Regions from separate parts of the Homo sapiens genome. Here region 2 is linked to region 1. The links are contacts of gene promoters, found by promoter capture Hi-C in blood cells and fetal thymus (Javierre and others, 2016). All regions are on one chromosome and are shown on one strand. Each heading gives the region's core, a stretch centred on a gene start or on the middle of the fragment in contact. The rest is flanking DNA. Distances are from core to core; before and after follow the strand shown.

Region 1 (3,507 bases), core at 213-2,712:
GTTGGCCAGGCTGGTCTCAAATTCCTGACCTCAGGAGATCCACCCGCCTAGGCCTACCAAAGTGCTGGGATTACAGGCGTGTGCCGCTGCGCCCAGCCTAGCTGGAGATTTTTAATAGAGGATCCTCTGTCCACAGCACTCCTTCCCCTCACCTTTTTCTTCTTTCCTTAAATAGCTAATTCCTACCTTCCAAGGGTGGCTCTATGAAGCCTTTGCTGACTCCTCCAACCTGGTTTAAGTGACTTCCTATGCCCTTTATGGTATCCTGTGTTACTACTACCATGATTATGATGCATTATAATTGCCTGCTAACTTACTGTCCAGGCCCGAGTTAGAAATGCATCCTTTTTCTTTTTTTTTTTTTGAGACGGAGTCTTGCTCTGTCGCCCAGGCTGGAGTGCAGTGGCGTGATCTCGGCTCACTGAAAGCTCTGCCTCCCGGGTTCACGCCATTCTCCTGCCTCAGCCTCCCGAGTAGCTGGGACTACAGGCGCCCGCCACCATGCCCGGCTAAATTCTTTTTTTTTTTTTTTTTTCAGTAGAGACGGGGTTTCACCGTGTTAGCCAGGATGGCCTCGATCTCCTGACCTCGTGATCCGCCCGCCTCGGCCTCCCAAAGTGCTGGGATTACAGGCGTGAGCCACCGCGCCCGGCAGAAATGCATCTCTTATTCACCACTGTACCTCTCTCTGGTAACCAGCATAATGCTAGGCATATAATAAGCACTAAATAAATATTTGTTGAATTAAGAGTCTTTAGCAAGAAAGCCAAGTGCCTTAAGCCTAGAGTATAGTTTCAGCCTGGAAAGGAGTAGCCAATAATGCCTAATGGACTCAAGTGGTCACAAGATGCCATCATTGAGAAGGGACGTTCAAAGATCACAGAACTGAACACATGGAAAAAGCTGAGATCCAGGAGGAGACCTGAGGTGTCCAAAGCCACAGAGAAAAGCAGCAGCAGCAGCAGTACAACAATTTTGGCTCAAATCTGACTTCTAAGCTGGTTTGCAGGCTGTAAGTTCAGTGCAGAAGGCCAATCTCTAGGGTATCCACCTCTGCCATGCGGGCAGATTAAGATCCGGTTTTCTGTAGAGCAGGCTTGGCGCTCAGGTAAGGGATATGGATGGGTTCGCAATTGACGAGTGAGTGGATACAGAGTCTGGTTTGGAGTTCCAGGTCTGAGATCCAGTTTGGGTCGCGGGTTCAGGTCTCCCTCCCTCCCCTCCCCTCCCCCTCGGCGCACTCACATGCCACCCTGTGAATGACCCAGAAGGTGATGCCCACCTCCGCCAGGCAGAGGCAGGCGGCCACCAGCAGCGTGTAGCGCGGCTCCCGCAGCAGCAGGCGCCGCTCTTGCCAGGCGCGCTGCAGCCATTGCTTGCAGAGTCCCTCTGCCTGGGCCGCGGAACCGGACCGGCCGCGTTTCCGCAGCCCAGCCGCCATCTTAACGGTGCGCCGCTTGTGTGGGCCCACCACCCCCGGAAACCCGAACCTTCGACACTTAGGTTCCGCTTCCCGTGCCTGGCGTCCCACCAGGCTAAGCGCCGATCCGAGTAGCCAGTCTTCATTTACTCCACTAAAATGTAATTTTTCTGCATTTGTCTCCTCTGATGCACTCCACGCTCCATAGGAGCAGGGACAATGTCTTACTCCTCAGTTTATACCCAGCCCTGGGTACACAGGCGCTAATTTAGAACGAATGTCCAGAAAAGCAACATTCCTGCCTACCTCCCCCACAACCGCTGAAGCCAGCATTCTCCTTCGCCTGCGCTGGGAACATCTGTGTTCATGCTGTCTCTCCAGGAGGGCAAAGCCCCTGTTCGCGCCCCTCCTGCCTGCCCTTCGAGCCTTCCGGATGCTGAGAAAAATGAACCTTTCACTAATTTTCAGATTTCCTGATAAAAGTCATTCATATTGAAAATATGAGAGGACGCAGTGATGAGCCCACGTGAGTCTGACACCTTGAGTGCGGCCCTAGGAAATGACTTGGCAGTACAGCCGGAGGATTCAGGGTCTGGACGATAGTTTTCCCAGCCGGAGGATTCTTCGAAGAGCGCTTAGTAAAGGACGGAAGTTCCACGTGTTTGTGTTGAGCAACTGCAGGTGGTGGGCGGAGACACCAGCGCCCCGCCTTCTGCATCCTGCCTTCCGTATTGGCTGAAGGGCCGGCGGCTCTGGCTGCCCGGCGGTTGAGAGCATGGCCTCTCCAGGGGCAGGTAGGGCGCCTCCGGAGTTACCGGAGCGGAACTGCGGGTACCGCGAAGTCGAGTACTGGGATCAGCGCTACCAAGGCGCAGCCGATTCTGCCCCCTACGATTGGTTCGGGGACTTCTCCTCCTTCCGTGCCCTCCTAGAGCCGGAGCTGCGGCCCGAGGACCGTATCCTTGTGCTAGGTGGGTAATCCCGGCGCGGCCCCGCCAGGTAGAGCTGGCAGGACCGGCGCCGCATGGGCTTGGCCTGGTCCGCTTTCCTCCCGCCTGTCTATCCCTCTTGGAGGACGCCTGCGTTGGGACGCGAGATCCAGCTCCTTCAGAGTCCCGGCTGTATTTAGTCAAGGCTAACAGGAGTAAGAGATTGTTGGTCCCGGGGCCCTCTGGAGAAAGACAGTCCCTCAGAGTTTGAGCGTTGGGGGTACCCAAGACCCTGTCCGGACCCTCGGGAGGCAGGCAGCCTTGGGGACCGGATTGCTCAGAGGACCGAGATCAAGTCCTAGCGCTAATTGACTTGTAAAACTTAGGACAAGTCATGAACCCGTTCTGAGCTTTAGATTCAGTTCTAGAAATGGTACTGCGAGTTCACATCGGAGGCGGCACGCGCAGGCACCTCGAGAATAATGCCCAGCGCTTTTCTTTTTGCCCCTGGGCACTGGGAGCCAGAGTCACCTAGAGAGAGTCCTGTCTGAAACTTGGTCCTATGCCTTAGAGAGTGAGAACAGCACCCTCTAGGGGTGGAGGGGAGATTGCCGCCCAGGGTGATACGATTCCCCAAAGGGAGACGTGCTGGAGGAAAGGTAGGGCTCTGGGGTGTTCGGCTGACCTCTTGAGGTTCTCTCCTAGTGTCAGCCTTGGAGGCGCTAGTAAAGTTTGAATGAGCAACAGATTTTCTTCCAATTGTCGTTTTTACTTTGCTCTTTGTAAAAGCCTTTGTATGTTTAAGTGAAGTCTTTAATAAATAAAAAAGGTATATGTAATATATATGTAAGGTATAAATAACAAATCTAATGTGTGTGTCTATTCCACTCAGTTTGAGAAATAGAACATTACTAGGGATAGAAAAAAAAGTATAATTTAGTGGTTAATAACTTGGCTGGGCGCGGTGGCTCACGCCATTAATCCCAGCACTTTGGGAGGCCAAGGCGGGCGGATCACCTGAGGTCGGGAGTTCGAGATCAGCCTGACCAACATGGAGAAACCCCATCTCTACTAAAAATACAAAAAATTAGTCGGGTGTGGTGGCGCATGCCTATAATCCCAACTACTTGGGAGGCTGAGGCAGGAAAATCGCTTGAA
Region 2 (3,149 bases), core at 157-2,656, 77 kb before region 1:
CCTGTTTGCCTCCTACAGGCAGTCGGAGCAGTGGCTCCAACCGTAGCGGCAGCGATCGGAGGAAGGAGAAGGACCCGAAGGCCGGGGACTCCAAGTCCGGGGGCAGCGGCAGCGAATCGGACCACACCACACGCAGCAGCCTGCGGGGGCCGCGGGAGCGGGCGCCCAGCGAGCGCTCAGGGCCGGCGGCCAGCGAGCACAGCCACCGCAGCCACCATTCCCTGGCCAGCAGCCTTCGCAGCCACCACACACACCCGAGCTACGGTCCTCCCGGAGTGCCCCCTCTCTACGGCCCCCCCATGCTGATGATGCCCCCGCCGCCCGCGGCCATGGGGCCCCCAGGAGCCCCTCCGGGCCGCGACCTGGCCTCAGTGCCCCCGGAACTGACCGCCAGCAGACAGTCCTTCCGCATGGCCATGGGAAACCCCAGTGAGTTCTTTGTGGATGTGATGTGAGCAGGGCCCCTCCCCCAGCTCCATTCCGCTCCCACCCCAGCCGGCTGCGTTCCTCTCTCCATCCGTCCGTCTTTTTTACTTTGTCTGGTACCTGAAAGGGAAATAAAAGGAACTAAATCCAGGTGCGCTAACTGCTCGCAGGGTGCTGCGAGGGTGGGGTGCACCTACCGATTGGCTCTGCAGCCCCCTAACCTGCCTCTGGCCCCAGTTCGTTTCCTCTGCCCACTAATCCCTGCGCAGGACTTCCCAGGACCCCTTTTGTCTCTGGGACCAGACTTGTTGGTGCTACCCCTTACTCCCCTCTGCAACCCCCATTTTGGGAGTTGACCCCAGCAATGACCTTGGTGGCACGCTCACTCCCTCATTCTCTCGTTTCCCCTTTAGCTCCCTTTCACCATTTATTCAGCTACATCATCCCTCTATTAACCCCACCCCATCAGGCACGTGTGCAAACCTCTTGACTTTACCCCACATTACTGAAACCAAAATATATTTGCTTCATCTGCCCCTACTAACCATCCCCCTGCCTGCTGCCTCAGTCCTGCAACCTAAAGCTGTAGTCGCCTCCAATAGCCATCCATGCCATCCCTGCCTGTGCCTAGATCAGAGGCCCAGAGGGCCCCCTCAGTTGCCTGAGCAGCTGGTGGCTTCCAGGGAGCATCTCTGCTCTACCCCTGCCCCATGCCTGCCCTGCGTGCTGGTTCCTTCAGACCCCTAACCCTACTAACCAGCAGGCTCATCTCACCTCCAGGCCTGAAACATTTCTTTTCTTTCTTTTTTCCTCCCCCAATTTACCCTGGGCCTGGAGCAGCCAAGAATTTCGGGCTGTTTGACTTTCTGTGAGCCCCCAGCGAGGGGAGGCCCAGCCTCCGAGGAGACCAGGAACCCTGCTTCAGCAGCCCCTCAGGGCTTCCCAAGGATGTCCAGCCCCCACACCCACACGTTAACATAATGAGTCACTAGGCTTCTGGGGAGGGCCCAACTTCACCCATGCATGAGAGACTCTCCTCCTTTCCAGAGAGAATCGGATCGCACCACGTGTGGCAGCCTGCGGCGGGGGGAGGGGGGCCTCTTTAGCTCTCTTTATCTTTCTCTCTCACTCATGTATGCATACATGCACAGAGATGCATACACAGGTGCCTATGCAAGTTCATTTAAGCCTCAGGGCTGGTCCCTGCCCAAAGGGCTGGACCCTCCTAATCCTCTCCTAGGTTGTGGGGCTGGTCCCCTGACACCCTTCTCCCCTTCCTGGTAGACCTTAAACCTCGCACACATGTCCCCAGCATTTTCTCACCTGGATAAAGCCCATAAGCTGGGTCTCAGGCTGGGCTCAGCAAAGGACTCGCCTTGCAACCGACAGGCCATTCCCACCCCCACACACAACCTCCCCTGTTTTCACATTCACCATGGCATCCCAGAGCAAGGACACAGGAGCCCACAGGCCAGTTGAGGTTGGGCAAGGAGACTTCCAGGACTTCCAGACAGAGTACCAGGTTTTATTTTTCACCTTATTCTCTACTTTAAACAAATCATAACTTTCTCTTTAAGCCTCTGCTATAAATTCTCCTGGCTCTCCTGGGCTTCCATATTTTGGGGGCTGGGGTGTCAAAAGTGAGATGAAGTTCTTAGCTCCAGGTTTTGGGGTAAACCAAGGTAGGAACATTTTGGCATTTATTTCAATTAACAATACTTCCTTGGACGGGTGCGGTGGCTCACGTCTGTAATCCCAGCACTTTGGGAGGCTGAGACAGGTGGATCACTTGAGGTCGGGAGTTCGAGACCAGCCTGGCCAACATAGCAAAACCCTGTCTCTACTAAAAATACAAAAATTAGATGGGTGTTTTGGCACCTGCCTGTAATCTCAGCTACTCAGGAGGCTGAGGCACAAGAATCGCTTGAATCCAGGAAGCAAGCGGAGGTTGCAGTGAGTTGAGATCGCACTCCAGCCTGGGTGACAGAGTGAGATTCTGTCTCAAAAGCAAACTAACAAAGAAAAACAATACTTCCTGGGGTTTTGGTGTGCAGAGGGCTTTGTTGGAAGTGTGACTCAATCTTGCCTGCCTTCTGGGAGCTCTAGAATTGTTCCCAACCCAGTCCATGGCTTCTAGCCACCACTACAGGGCTGTTTCATGTACTTCTCTCTCTGACTCTGTCTTGTCCGACTCTCTTGAGAATTTCTCAACGATTGCTCATGCCTGTCAGTATCAGTGCTTCCATCGTTCCATCTTTGATTCACTTCTCTTTCCTTTCTATTTACTCCCAAAATGGAGTCATTCATCCTGATGTCCTCAATTGCTGCTGATATGCTGGTGATTCCCAAATACATAGCTCCAACCCCCAACTTCCCCCAGACTTTAGATCTGTATTGGTATTACCTACTGGACATCTCTATGGACAGTTCCGTATAGACTCAACTCATCTGCCCAACCAAGTATGTTCCTCCTGAATTCCTCTCCTGGTTACTTCATCACAATCTACATAGGCTCACCAGCTAGAAACATTTATGAGCTTACATTCCTTCTTCCCATATCTTATCAGCATATCATATCCATTTCACTCCAACACTCTGTCTTGAATTTGGCCCTCCCTCTCCCCTCTCTACTTTAATTCATTGGAGCATGGGATTTGGAGTTAGGTGGTTTTGGGTTTGAATTCCAGCTCTACTATTTTTGGTTGTGTGATAGAGTTATTTAA

The links. The method cuts DNA at HindIII sites, captures the fragments that hold promoters and counts their contacts. A CHiCAGO score of 5 or more calls a contact.
Region 2: a contact is called between a fragment that was not itself captured here and the fragment with the promoter of ALG3 in region 1, in 1 of 17 cell types (naive CD4 T cells). The highest score is 5.2, in naive CD4 T cells.

What each region holds. Positions count from the first base shown.
Region 1 is chr3:184,247,500-184,251,006 of GRCh38, forward strand. ALG3 (ALG3 alpha-1,3- mannosyltransferase) reads right to left here and starts at 1,463. Exons shown (of 9, transcript NM_005787.6): 1 at 1,246-1,463. The coding sequence starts at 1,441. It overlaps EEF1AKMT4-ECE2 (EEF1AKMT4-ECE2 readthrough), which reads left to right and starts at 2,173. Exons shown (of 19, transcript NM_014693.4): 1 at 2,173-2,391. The coding sequence starts at 2,196. It overlaps EEF1AKMT4 (EEF1A lysine methyltransferase 4), which reads left to right and starts at 2,173. Exons shown (of 3, transcript NM_032331.4): 1 at 2,173-2,391. The coding sequence starts at 2,196. RefSeq lists enhancers at 44-787, 788-1,531, 1,730-1,779, 1,860-1,919, 1,950-2,059. The HindIII fragment of the contact is 5,512 bases long and covers 1-3,507 here.
Region 2 is chr3:184,170,301-184,173,449 of GRCh38, forward strand. It overlaps DVL3 (dishevelled segment polarity protein 3), which reads left to right. Exons shown (of 15, transcript NM_004423.4): 15 at 19-3,149. The coding sequence ends at 455. Among named protein-coding and RNA genes, the nearest start is that of AP2M1, 3.0 kb to the right of the region's middle. RefSeq lists an enhancer at 1,241-1,535. The HindIII fragment of the contact is 3,938 bases long and covers 1-3,149 here.